Linked DNA regions of Homo sapiens: region 1 is linked to region 2. Evidence: promoter capture Hi-C in human tissues and cell types (Jung and others, 2019). All regions are on one chromosome and are shown on one strand. The core of a region is centred on a gene start or on the middle of the fragment in contact, and the rest is flanking DNA. Distances in the headings are between cores, read along the strand shown. Region 1 overlaps PATL1-DT (PATL1 divergent transcript). Region 2 holds the start of TMEM109 (transmembrane protein 109).

Region 1 (6,990 bases), core at 819-3,318, 1.2 Mb after region 2:
TCATTCCAACCCTAGAATCTATTTATCTGTCCAGAAAATTTGCCATGATTAAAAGGTCTGTTGTTCTTCTTCAAGTAGGCTGTGGTGGTTCTATAAAATATGTCCACAAATTCTTTGAAACTCCTCCCTTTACACAGTGGAGCCTAATTCCTCTCCCTTTGAATATGGGTTGTACCTAGTAACTTATTTCTAGTACATAGAATGTGGCAGAAGTGACAGTGTGTGACTTCTGAGGGTGGGTCATAAAAGATATTGTGGCTTTAGCTTCTACCTCAGATTACTCACTGTAAAAGAAGCTACCATGTCCTGAGGACAATCAAGAAGCCCTATGGAGATGCTAATGTAGTAAGGAACTGAGATCTCCTATGAACAGCCAGAGAGGAACTGACACCTCTTGCTAACAGCCATGTAAGTGAACCATCTTGAGGACAGATTCTCCACTGCTAGTCAAGACTTCAGGTGTCTGGAGCCCCAGCCAACATTCAGACTGCAATCTCCTGAAACACTCTGAGCCAGAACCACCTAGCTAAGCTGCTCCCAGTTCCTGACCCCCAAAATCTTTGTGAGATAATAACTTATTTTTGTTTTAAGTGCTTGTATTAGTCCATTTTCACACTCCTATAAAGAACTGCCCGGGACTGGGTAATTTACAAAGGAAAGAGGTTCAATTGACTCACAGTTCTGCATGGCTGGGGAGGCCTCAGGAAACTTACAATCATGGCGGAAGGTGAAGGGGAAGCAACGCACCTCCTTCACAAGGTGGTGGGACGCAGAATGAATGCAGGAGGAACTACCAAACACATAAAACCATCAGATCTTGTGAGAACTCACTTATTATGATGAGAACAGCATGAGGGAAACCACCCCCATTATTCAATTACCTCCAGCTGTTCTCTCCCTTGACATATGGGGATTATGGGGATTAAAATTCAAGATGAGATTTTGGGTGGGGATACAACCAAACCATATCACTGCTAAATTTTAGGGTAGTTTTGTATGCAGCAATATATAACTAACAGCATGTTAGTGAACATAGCCCCAGTTGTCTTGGGAGTTACTGAAATGAACACAGAAACCATTGACATAGTTCACCTAGTGACATCTTCATTATTCATCTCTAAGCAGCACATAAAACACAAACTTAAACCTTAAAATTTTTTCTCATTATACTACCAGAAATCATTTTTTATACCCCAATGACTCATACATACCACATACATACCATAGGCTAAAAAATGGCTCCCCAAATATTTCCATGTCCTAATTCCAAGAACCTGTGAATATATTATTTTACATGGTAAAAGGGATTTGGTAGATATGATTAAATTAAGAATCCTGAGATGGGGAGATTATCCTGTATTATCTGGGTGCACACAATGTTATCACAGGATCTTTATAACAAAGGAGCAGGAGAATTGAAGAGAAAAGTATGATAACAAAAGCAGAGAGAGAAAGAGTTTGGAAGATTTATGCTGCTGACTTTGAAAATGGAGGATAGGGCTACAAGCCAAGAAATGCAAGTAACCTCTGGAAGCTAAAAACAAACAACAAAAAACAAATTCTCCCCTAGTGGCCTCAAGGAAGAAATGTAGTTCTGTAACCCATTTTAAAATTCCGACCTATAGAAATATAATTTTGTTACAGAAACAACAACAACCTAACACCTCATTTTATTATACTTCACAGATAATTGTGTTTTTTACAAATCGAAAAATTTTGGCAACCTTACATTGAGCAGGTCTATCAGCACCATTTTCCCAACAGCATGTGTTCACTTCACGTCTCTGTCTCACATTTTGGTAATTCTCACAATATTTCAAACTTTTTATTACATCTATTATAGTGATATGTGTTCAGTCATCTTTAATGTTACTATTTTAATTGTTTTGGGGCACCAGGAACTGCACCCTTATAAGACGGTGAACTTACTAAGTGTTGTGTGTGTTCCACTGACTAGCTGTTCCCTCATCTTTCTCCCTCTCTTTGGGCCTCCCTATTCCCTGCGACACAACTATATTGAAATTAGGCCAATTAATAACCTCACAATCACCTTTAAGTGTTCAAGTGAAAGAAAGAGTCACACATCTCTCACTTTAAATCAAAAGCTAGAAATGATTAAGCTTAGTGAGGAAGGCATGTCAAAAGCAAGATGGGCCAAAAACTAGGCCTTTGGGCCAAGAAGCTAGCCAAGTTGTGAATGCAAAGGAAAAGCTCTTGAAAGGATTTAAAAATGCTACTCCAGTGAACATACAAATGGTAGGAAAGTAAAACAGCATTATTGCTGTTATGGAGAAACTTTCAGTGGTCTGGATAAAAGATCAAACTAGCCACAACATTCCCTTAAGCCAGATCCTAATCCAGACACCCTAACTCTCTCAATTCTATGAAGGTGGAGAGAGGTGAGGAAGCTGCAGAAGAAAAGTTTGGAGCTAGCAGAGCTTGGTTCATGAGGTTTAAGGAAAGAAGCCACCTCCATAACATAAAAGTACACAGTAAAGCAGCAAGTGCTTGATGTAGAAGCTCCAGCAAGTCATCCAGAAGATCTAGCTTCATCATTGATGAAGGTGGCTACATCAACAGATTTTCAATGCAGACAAAATGGCCTTATATTATTGGAAGAAGATACCATCTAGGACTTTCAATGCCTAGGTTCAAAGCTTCAAAGGGCAGGCTGACTCCCTTGTCAGGGGCTAGTGCAGCTGGTGACTTTAAGTTGAAGTCAATGCTTATTTGTCCTTCTAAAAAATCTTAGGTTCCTTAAGAATTATGCTAAATCTACCCGGCCTCTGCTCTGTAAATGAAACAATAAAGCCTGGATAGCAACAGCACATCCATTTACAGCGTGATTTACTGAATATTTAAAGCCCACTGCTGAAACCTACTACTCAAAAAAAAAAAAAAAAAAAAAAACTGGTTTATTTTAAAATACTACTGCTCATTGACAATGCAGCTGGTCACCCAAGAACTCTGATGGAGATGTACAAGATTAATCGTTTTCAGGCCTGCTAACACAACATCCATTCTGCAGCCCACACAGCAATTTCAACTTTCAAGTCTTATTATTTCAGAAATACATTTTGTAAGGCTATAGCTGTCATAGATAATGATTCCTTTGATGGATCTGGGCAAAAGAAATTGAAAACCTTCTGGATACTTCTGGATGACTAGATAAAGGAAAACAAAACAAAACAAAAAAACCTGGAAAGGATTTACCATCCTAAATGCCATTAAGAACATTTGTGAAGCCAGGTACAGGCAGCGTGGCGAAGCCCTGTCCCTACAAAAAATACAAAAATTAGCCGGGCATGATGGTGCCCGCCTATAGCCCCAGCTACTTGGGAGGCTGAGATGGGAGAATGGCTTGAGCCCAGGAGGTGGAGGTTGCAGTGAGTCGAGATCGTGCCACTGCACTTGTTTGCCCCCTGCCCGCAAAAAGAACATTTGTGAGTCATAGGAAGGGGTCAAAGTATCAACATTGTCATGGAAAAACTTAAACTGCATTTGTCCTCTGCTCTCACACCACAACAATCAACACAGAAGACTTCTGTGACCAAATATATGGGGGATTTTCCCCACCAACAAGCAGTGGAGACCAGCTGGGTATCCTCCAATTCGATTCTGACACTACCTGGAGATATGTCAGTTCCCACAGGTAAAGGGCTCAGTCCCCAAGATTACTCCCTCCTCCCCCCAGACACCAGTTGCAAGTCCAGGTCTCTGGAACTTCTGATCAATCAGCTTCAAGTTGAGGTTCCCATGACCCCCTCTTTGGGTTCAATAATTTGCTGGAGTGGCTCACAGAACTAAGGAAACACTTATATTTACCAGTTTATTATAAAGGATATCACGAAGGATCCAGATGAAGAGATGCACAGGGAGAGGTATGGAGGAAGGGACACGGAGCTCCCATGCCCTCCCCAGGTAGCCATTCCCCAGAAACCTCCACTTGTTCAGCTATCAGGAAGCTGTCCTCTTGGATTTTTATGGAAGCTTCATTATATCAGCATTCCTTCCCCCAGGCCATGGGTTGGGACCCTCTCTGAAATGAGTCTTATGATCCACAATTATAAAAGCAGAAGATTAGAGTCCTGCTTTGGGGTAGGTGAAAGGAAGGCAGGTAAAAGGAAGGCAAGAGAAGGTCAAAGAGATTCTGTTTCCTGTGTATGAAAACCTATATGTATATATATTTCATAACACTACAAACATTAACAGGACTTTGGAAGAAGTTGATTCCAACCCTCATGGATGACTTTGAGAGGTTCAAGACTTCGGTGGAGGAAGTCACTGCAGGTGCGGTGGAATACCAAGAGAACTAGAATTAGAAGTGGAGCCTGAAGATGTGACTGAATTCCTGCAATCTCATGATTAAACTTTTAACAGGTAAGGAGGTGCTTCTTATGCATGAGAAAAGAGTTTCCTTAAGATAGAATCTTCTCCCGGTGAAGATGCTGTGAACATTGCTGAAATGATAATAAAGGATTTAGAGTATTACACAAGCTTAGTTGATAAAGCAGTGTTTGAGAGAATTGCCTCCAATTTTGAAAGTTCTAATTCATGGGTAAAATGCCAAACAGCGCTGCATGCTACAGAGAAACTTTTCCGTCATGAAAGGAAAAGTCAATCGAGGTGGCTTACTTCCTTGTCTTATTTTAAGAAATTACCATAGCCACCCCAACCTTCAGCAACCACTGCCTTTATCAGTAAGCAGCTATCAACATCGAGGCAAGACCCTCCATCAGGAAAAAGATTAAAATTCGCTAAAGGCTTAGATGATCATTAGCATTTTTAGCAATAAAGCATTTTTTAATTAAGGTATGTACATTGCGTTTTTAAAGACATAATGCTATTGCACAGTAGGCTATAATATAGATATCACTTCTCACCATTTTACATAATAGATTCTCGATAAATACGTATTGAGTTGAATCCCCTGCAAAAAAAAAAGTTTAATAGTTTGCCAAAGTATAACTTTCAAAAAGCTAAATAAAAATTATTCTCTTTCAATTACATTATGAGCATGTGTCAAAATATTTATTTATCTTATTAATGAAAAGAAACAGCAAGGTGGTGAAGCTGATTCAAAGGAGGACACAAGAAACTATGAACTATATAGTGGGGGAAATGGCTGAATTAAGACTCAAAAGTTAAATATATTATTGGTTAATGTCCTGTGTGGCAATAAAACTGTCTCCTTTGAGATGATCTTTCCCACCAAAATGAAATTATCTCCACTGGACAAAAATAATTTGCAACTTGTTAATCTTCTATAAACTAATATCTAACTTTACTGAGTCTGGGATCTCATTAATTAATAATAAACACTAAGTCAAACAAGGTTACCTCTCTGTAGAACTTTAAATGACCTTTAGGCAGGCTTGTTAGATAATGTTCTTATTACAACATTGCAAGGCACACAACAATCCTTTTTCCTTATTTCCAAGTTTTGTATAATTTTTCTAAACGGACACATTCCCACTATCTATTAGTGAGCAATAAACTACTCTAAAACTTTGTGGTTGAAATGTACATATATATATATAGCCACATGTGGTGGCACGTGCCTGAAGGCTTGGCTACTGGGGAGGCTGAGGTGGGGGAATGGTTTAAGCCCAGGAGTTTGAGGTAGCAGTGGGCTATGATTGCACCATTGCACTGCAGCCCTCTCAAAAAACAACAAACAAACAAAACAAACAATACAATTTGTGGCTTAAAACTACAACCATTTTATTTTATATATATATATATAATATATATAATAAAGTATTTTATATTTTATATATATATATAAAATACTTCTATGGGCCAGGAATTTTGGAGCAGCTTTGCTGAGTGATTCTTCCGCTCTTTATGGCATGGAATGGAGTCACAGTGTTTGGCTGGTAGCTGAACAGGTGTGAAGAGTCCAAGACAGCTTCATTCACATACCTGGTGTCTTGACTGGGATGGTTAATAAGCTAAATAGAGCTGGACCCACCTTCCTCTTTATGTAATTTCAGGGTCCTTCCATGTGATCTCTTCAGCAAAGCAGCCGGGTATTTTACATGGACTTACACTGCCAATCTTCTTAAAGGTGACCCAGAACTGGCAGAGCATCTCCACTTCCATATTCCATTAGTCAAAGCAGTCATAGCTCAGTCCAGATTCAAGGAAAAGGGAACATAGATCTTACCTCCTAATGGGAGAAGTAGCAGGGTGTGCTGGTTTGCGCCTGTAATCCCAGCTATGCAGGAGGCTGAGGCCAGGAGTTTGAGACCAGCCTGGGCAACATAGTGAGACCCTGTCTTTATAAAAATAAAAAATAAATAAGCTGGGTATAGTGGTGTGTGCCTGTAGCCCCAGCTATTCAGAAGGATGAGGCAGGAAAATCACTCGAACCCAGGGGTTTGAGGCTGCTGTGAACTATAATCACACCATTGCACTACAGCCTGGGCAACAGAGTGAGACCCCATCTCTGAAAAGTAAATAATAAAAACTAATCAGTTAATTATTAAATGGGAGAACTGTCAAAGAATTTGTGGCCATGTTTAGTCCATCACAAATTTTGCCTTGTAACAGTTATTTTTATTATATGGGTAATTCTTTTCCCCTAAGATTTGTTGCACTAAGGGGTCCCATTACTTTCTGGGAGGTTTGTCATAACTTTTTTCACTACATGAGAAATGACCCTGGGTGCAGCACCCTACTCTTTTCTCCCTCTATAACCCTGCAAGTACTAATGGACAATGTGGGGTTTCAAAGTGTAGTCACAGAACTAGTAGCGTCGGAATAATCTGGCAACTTGTTACAAATGCAAATTCTCAGGCCTGACTTCCCTCCTACTGAATGTGAAACTCTGGGGATGGGGCCCAGTAGTCTATGTTTCAACAAGCCATCTTGGCAATTCTAAATGCATGTTAAAGTTTGGAATCAGTGTTTTAGAGATGTAAGTTACTTGATGAAAATATCTGAAACCAGTCTCACAAGAAAGTAAATTGTACGTCATGTTTTTTT
Region 2 (6,900 bases), core at 3,909-6,408:
CTCTGTCCCAAGGAGCTTATAATCTACTTAAGATACAGCTGGTATAAAAAACAACTTAAAAATAGCACACAAGTAGGATTACTGCCATATAATGGTATAAAGAAAAGTGCTCAGTTATGTGCTCAAACAAGAATAACTGCACATATGTCATCTTCTCTGCAGGACCATCATGTGAGGTGGCTTTTATCCTCCTCGCCCCTACTGGTACAGACGAGAAGAAACTGTGACTCAGAAGTTAAGCATTTTCCCATGGTCACTGGGCTACACAGAAAGGCCAGGATTTGAACCCAAGCTTCTGCTTCCACCCATCTTCATTAGGAGTCAAGTTATACTGTGGGTCTCAACCATGGCTGCTCACTGGAATCACCTGGAAGCTTCCCAAGTACTGATGTCTGTGTCCCCAGCCCAGAGGTTCTGATATCATTGTCTGGGTGTGGCCTAGCCTTGGATCTGCAAAAGCTCCCTAGGCAGTTCCACTGCATGAAGTTGAGAACCACTGATACAGAGTGACCTCACCTCCCCACCCCCAATGGAGGTGCTATGGTTTGAAGAGCAAAACTCATGTTGAAATTTAACTGTTCTTGCACCTCCTGCAGAGCCTGGGAGCTCCCAGTCCAGCCAAGGATGTTGGATCTCATGGTCCTAAGTACTTCTTTGACACCCCATTCCCCTCAGTAAAATAGTTTGACCCCTTCTCCACCAAAAAAAAAAAAAAAAGAAAGAAATTTAATTGCCATGATGATGGTATTAAAAGGTGGGACCTTTAAGAGGTGATTAGGTTATGAGGGTTCAGCCCTCATGAATGGATTAATGCCGTTATCTTGGGAGTGGATTAGTTATCCCAGGAATGCAGCTCCTGATAAAAAGGATGACTTTGGCCTGATTTCCTGTCTCTGTCTCATGTGCTGGGTTCTGCCTTCTGCCATAGGATGACCCTTGCCAGATGCCAGCGCCATGCCCTTAGACTTCCCAGCCTCTGGAACTGTGACCCTAATGAATTTCTGTTCATTATAAACTACGCAGGCAGTGGCATTCTGTTATAGGAAGCAGAAAATGGACGAGGACAGTGAGCAAGGGTATAATGAACAACCTTTAAAGAAATACTATTAATAAAAAGCTAACATTCAGCTAGGTCTTGCCATGCACCACCGCGCTCATTTAACTGTCACAACAGCCCATCGGGTAGGTGTTGCTATTATCCCCCATTTTACTGAAGTAATTGAGGCAGGTTAAGTATTAACTGGGGAAATCAGCATTTGAATGTAGGTACTTCTGACATTGGACCCCTCATACACAACAACTCTGCTGTATTGTCTCCAACTAAGTCTCAGAAGTGATTTAGAAAGTCATACAGGCCAGGCACAGTGGCTCATTCCTGTAATCCCAACACTTTGGGAGGCTGAGGTGGGAGGATTGCTTGAGCCCAGGAGTTTGGGAGCAGCCTGGGCAACATAGGAGACCCTGTCTCTACAAAATAAATATAAATAAATAAATTAGTCAGGTGTGGTGGTGCGTGCCTGTACTCCCAGCTATTTGGGAGGCTGAGGGGGGAGGATCACTTGAGCCCAGGAGGTCACGGCTGCAGTGAGCTATGATCATGCCACTGTATCCCATCCTGGGCAAGAGAGCAAGACGCTTAAAAAAAAAAGTCACACAACAGATTATTCATGAGTTAAAATAAACTTGGCATCTACCAATCATCTCAGTGAATTACTGGTGAAAATTACCTAACAACTTTGTGCTTTGTGCTCTGGTCTTGTAACACAATGCCACAGACAAGTTAAGACCCAACAAGTGCCAACTCATTGAAGCAGGTAAGGATCAGCCAAGAAAAAGTACACAAGTTCAACTTCTACTTGCCACTGTGCTTGAGAAATGTCAGACAGCGCCAGCAAATTCCCTGTTCCCCTCCAGGTTCAGAAATGAACCTGTAGCTCCAGGAGTTTTCATGATTCAGACCTGATGATCAGAGGCTAAGCCATGCCCCTGAGGTAGGAGCAGTCAGGTTTTTGAACTTTTTGCAGTTACACAGGCACTCAGGGAGTTGACAATAAATCCAGAGCCATGAGGGATGGAGAAGGAAGAGAATGATGTCCTAGTCTTGCTTAGGGGGAAGGAGGAGAGTCTAGGAAAGGGTTCTAAAAATACTACATTTAGGGTACTTTTTGGTCCAGAAACAGCTGCTCTAAGCCCTTCCAGAAGCCTGGAGGGTCAAGCAAGGCTGAAAAACATGCAATTCATGTAGAAGGCCCTCAGGCTGGGAAAGCCTTCTACTGTCTTTGGCACAAATCAAGAACCAGATGGTTCCTGCCTGCCAGTGGTCGCAGATGAGGAAAGCACAGGTGAGTTCCTGAGCTATCTGGGTCATAACCATGTTGGGGACTTAAAAGAGCAGGGTTGCTATCTTGGGTTGGATCCTTTATCCAAGGACCTCCACCAGGAGGGATCAAATATCGTTTCCTCAGCCCTAGGAGGTCAGGGTGCCATAAGCTGCTCCTCCCACAGCAGCCTGCCTTGTTCTGTGCCAGCCCCAACTCTCCAGTGGCTGTCTGCCCCAGTTAAGGGGAGCTAGGAGACCTTGAAATAAGCCCTCTGCAGTGAGGCTGGCATCGTTATGCAGACTGATGTTCTGAAGTGCACCAGATACCAAACCTAACAGGATTGTGTAGTGTATCCTTTGGAGATAATGAGTGCAGAGATTGGCTGGCTGGTCTGCTTTTTCAAATTGTTTTCTTTAATAGGATTCCTTCTCATTTTTTTCCAGGTGAATCTCAGGCAGTATGGACTCACTGCTATTAGGCCTCCTCACTTTGGCCTAATCAAATAGTTTTACTAAAGGCATGGAAACAGTCTCAGCCTCTGAGAGGAGGAAGCATGTCTTAAAACTTCTTCACCTTCTGCAATGCCTGGCCTCAGACAAATAATAGGCACTCAATTAACAACTCATAATAATACAAATGTTATACATATCTATACATATACATATGTTATAATAATTTTTGTGTGGTGCTTTATAATTCACAGAGTGCTTATTGTTTCATCACTTCATTTAACTCTAACAACAATCTTTTAAGGTATTATTACCCTCTTCATCTTACTCAGAAAAGTATGGCTTAGAGAGGTTGAGTGACTTATCCAAGATCACACAGCAGAGCTGGGACTTGACTCCAGTACCCAGGATCTCAATCTTGCCTTTTTGCTTGTCCCATACCCGCATGCTGCCTTGATAGTGGACATAGTCCCTGCCCTCATGGAGCTGAAGTTCACCAACAAGCTCAAAGTGGAAGGACATCCAGACTCCTCCGAGGGAACACATACCAGGAGACCATCTGCCTTCTGGGCTTACAGGCCATGGTTTTGTACCAAGAGGTATGAGAGGACAGCAAAAGGTGGGAGACAAAACCTGCCACTTCTGTTCGGCAGCTGCAATATGGCTCAGGTGGGTCTGGAGAGCCCAGCCTGGCTGGGGAAACAGCTTTACTTATTGTGTTAGTGAGAAGGCGCCACTGCTTATGTTTAGCTGTGGTTTGCTACAAGGGTAGGATGGGGCATTTCGCGCCCCCCCCTCCCAATCAAGGCTCCTTCCTCCTCTTCTCTTTCCTTTTGTTAGTTTCATTTCATGCTATGAATCACCAGGTGGCAGGAGGGGCGGCAAAAAGTGCCCTCTACCGGCTCTGACTGTCCCGCCGCTGCTCATAGCTGCCCCTAAGGAGCGGCGGTTCTCAACTTTGGCTGCCCATCGGAACTGCCTGTGCAGCCTGTTAAACAAGGACGTCTGCCCCACCCAGGGCTACTCACTCAGACTCTTCCAGAGAGGGACTCAGCCCTTTGTTTTGCAAAGCTCCTCAGGAATTTCGGATGCATAGCCAGCAGCTCAGGGAAAAGTCTAAGCAAAGCTTCAAAAGTGCAGCAGTGTACAAAGGACCCCTGACTTCCGTCCCAGGCTCAAGTGTGCCACGGACTAGAAGCTACTACCTTACGCCTGTTACTTAACCTGCCTGAGTTGCAGTCTCCTCAAACGTAAAAGGGAGTGAACCCAGGTGAAGAGTTGCTGTAAGGAGTTAAGATATTTCTGCAGCAAGCGCTTTGTAAACTAAACATCTATAGAAATGTTGCAGCACACACATTACCACTGACTATATATCGTAGCATAATTTAGCAGTTTATCAACCTGCCTTCCCCAGTAGACCGAGCGACTCCCGGTTAGACTTGACATGTTGGAATCCCCAGCGCCTAGTAGGAAAGATGACTAATAAATGTTTATTAAATGAATATTAGCAACCTGCCAAGAAACCGTGAGGGTCGAACGAGAAAGCCATGGAGAGGTGAGGAGGGAGGTTATTTTAATAGTAGATCCAAATATACAGCAGCCACACGAGAAGCACAGCTGAGTCTAAAGGAAGGTCCTAAACAAGGCGAAGCCGCCACTGCAGAGAATGAAGTCAGCGCCCTGGCAGGTTGGGGGCAGCTCCCACTAAACCCCTGACAGCTGCTGCCCAGCAACTGTTTGGGGGCAGGGCGACGGCAAAGGGGCAGCTTCCCTGCCGCTCCGCGCCCTAACCGGGGCGCAGCCTCCCGGAGACAGGGTGTCAGTGGCATGTGCTATTTCGAACGGCGCGTCCCCTGCCAAGCGCTGAGGGGTAGCGTCGCTGGCAAGGAACGTGGCGCGACCCATGAGTTTGGGGCCCCCCGAAGGGCTCGAGCCGAGGCTGCAGGAGGCTGGGCCGTGGGTCGGGGTTCGGGGGCTCGGGCTTGGCGCTGGCCTGGTCCCCACGCCCGGGAGCCGCTCCACCTCTGCCGGACCTCGGAACCTCGCCGCAACCCTCTTCTCCCCGGAAACGTGCGCCTCCCGGGTTGCCTGGAAACGACGCCCCCGGTTGCATAGCAACGGGGATCCGGGTCCCCGGTTTGTTTCGCACGCTGGGCGCGCGGACCCCTCCCCACTCGGACTCTCCAGGCCTCGCGGCTCCGCCTGGTGCCGCCTGCAGCGGCTGCTGTCTCCCCTTCCCGTGCGCTGCCCCACATTCCGACCTCGGCCCGCTCTCACCTTTCTCAGGCCACTGCTATCCTTCACGTGCGACTTCGCTGAAACGCGCCACCAAACCCGCGCCTCAACTCGGGGCGCTGGTTTACCTTCTCCGCATGCGCAAGGCGGGATGAGCTCGGAGACTAGCCGGCCTTCCTCACAATCGAAGCCTGTGCCGGGAGCGCATGCGCCCCGCTTTATCTATTGCGTTTCTTTTTCCCCCCACAAGCATTCCCACCGAGAGAAGAATGGGATCGGAAGTTCCAGCAGGGAACGGAAGTCTCTGGCTGGAAAGGGGAAATAAGTGACTATATCTGGGCTGTAGAGTGGGTAAACTGGATCTTTGAAATCGGAGTGGAAGCTAATCCTCCTCTTGCCACCACTCGGCATTTTGGGTCATGTAGTTCTAGAGCTACAAATGTTCCCTGGGGCATTGTGGGCAATGTAGTTCTAACCGAGCCGCTAACGAGCACCTAGTCTTCCCATACACTTTTCGCGCTAAAAAGGCACAAAAGAGAAAGATATTAAAGGAGCAATTAAAAGCACACTGCTCTAGGAAAACGAATGCGCTCCCCCAGAGAGAAAATTCATACCTGAATACTGTAGACGGCTCCCAAATGTTAGCTCAGAATTTCAGAGAAAGAGAGGAACCAACTCTCACTCTCCTTTTTCTGCCACAAAGGCAGTGCATAGGGACAGGAGGCAGATAAATGCTAGGTAGAAAAGAGCGGGTCCCTGGTGAAACCCCACCCTCAAGCCAAAAAGCCTGAAACCATGGCCCAAAGTGAGAACTTCTATCCATGTTTTTCCAGTTGAATGTTGCCTTTTCCTAAGCCACCCATGGCTCTGCCCTGCCTCATCCTGTGCCTAGAAAGACCCCAGACTCATCTGGCAGAGAGGAGAAGCAGCTGGATGAGGGGACGACCATGGCTGGATGTCAGAGAGAAGCAGCTTGTCTTCAGAGGGACAGCTTAAGGCGTAACTTCTGAGACGAATCTGGCTGGAGATAGCTGGACTTCAAGGGAAGACTACATACCGGCCTGTCCCACCCCCCTCTTTTCAGCTCACCTTCCCTCTGAAATCCACTTTGATCAGCAATAAAATCCCAGGCATTTGTCCTTTAATTTGTTCGTGCAGCTTTATTTTTCTTGGACGCTGGACAAGAGCTCGGGAGCCACGAGTGCGGATACAAAAGCTGTCACGCTGGCCCTCTGCCCTTGCTGGTGGAGGGCAACCGCGGGCCCACGGAGCTGTTAACACTTAAGCTGTCCACGGACGACAGAGCCAAAAGAACACTGTAACATGCCCTCTGGGGCTTCAGGAGCCTCAGGCACTCTGCCTGGACACTGCCCCGGGGCCTGCACGGAGTTCGCTCCTGCCGGTGTCCAAAAGCGCACGCTCTGGCTCCTGCACCCACTCACCTGCACGCTCCCTCCTATGAGGGGTGGAACGCGGTGAATCTTGAGTGAGTGGAGTGTGATCCCACTGGTGCTGAAAAACGGCTGGCTTGTTCCAGCGCTTGTGCACTCCAGTTCCCGCCTTGTTCACTTGCGTACTCCCTCCCATGAGGAGTTGAGAGCAGCGGGCTGAGTAAACGGGGCACCCCTGTTGTGAGTCCTGTGAAAGGTCAGGGCAATATCCTGCTTCAGCAGCACCGTGAAGGAGAATGAACAGGGCTTCAGAATGAGGTGATCTCTTGCCTGTCGTGTGATCCTGAGCACACAGCTTCATTTCTCTGAGCCTTCATTGCTTGACGTTCAAGAACTATAAAGGACCTAAAAATACCACTTCACAGTAGGTGTGAAGTTTCAAGGAAGCAACAAGCATGAACATTAAAAAAAAAAAAAAAAATCCAGGTTGCTGACTGAATGTTT

The links. The method cuts DNA at HindIII sites, captures the fragments that hold promoters and counts their contacts. A contact is called where the count stands out against the background at its distance.
Region 1: a fragment that was not itself captured here is called in contact with the fragment with the promoter of TMEM109 in region 2 in 1 of the 25 tissues and cell types used here (small bowel).

What each region holds. Positions count from the first base shown.
Region 1 is chr11:59,672,867-59,679,856 of GRCh38, reverse strand. PATL1-DT (PATL1 divergent transcript) reads right to left here. Exons shown (of 4, transcript NR_187296.1): 2 at 6,170-6,281; 3 at 4,884-4,930; 4 at 3,816-4,460. Among named protein-coding and RNA genes, the nearest start is that of PATL1-DT, 7.1 kb to the right of the region's middle. The HindIII fragment of the contact is 4,352 bases long and covers 1-4,244 here.
Region 2 is chr11:60,912,416-60,919,315 of GRCh38, reverse strand. TMEM109 (transmembrane protein 109) reads right to left here and starts at 5,158. Exons shown (of 4, transcript NM_024092.3): 1 at 5,048-5,158. It overlaps TMEM109-DT (TMEM109 divergent transcript), which reads left to right and starts at 5,253. Exons shown (of 2, transcript NR_186356.1): 1 at 5,253-5,356; 2 at 5,839-6,150. It overlaps LOC124902676 (a long non-coding RNA gene), which reads left to right. Exons shown (of 2, transcript XR_007062688.1): 2 at 163-1,700. RefSeq lists enhancers at 1-479, 3,250-3,299, 4,360-4,529, 3,924-4,922, 5,921-6,900 and a silencer at 4,710-4,869. The HindIII fragment of the contact is 7,495 bases long and covers 2,136-6,900 here.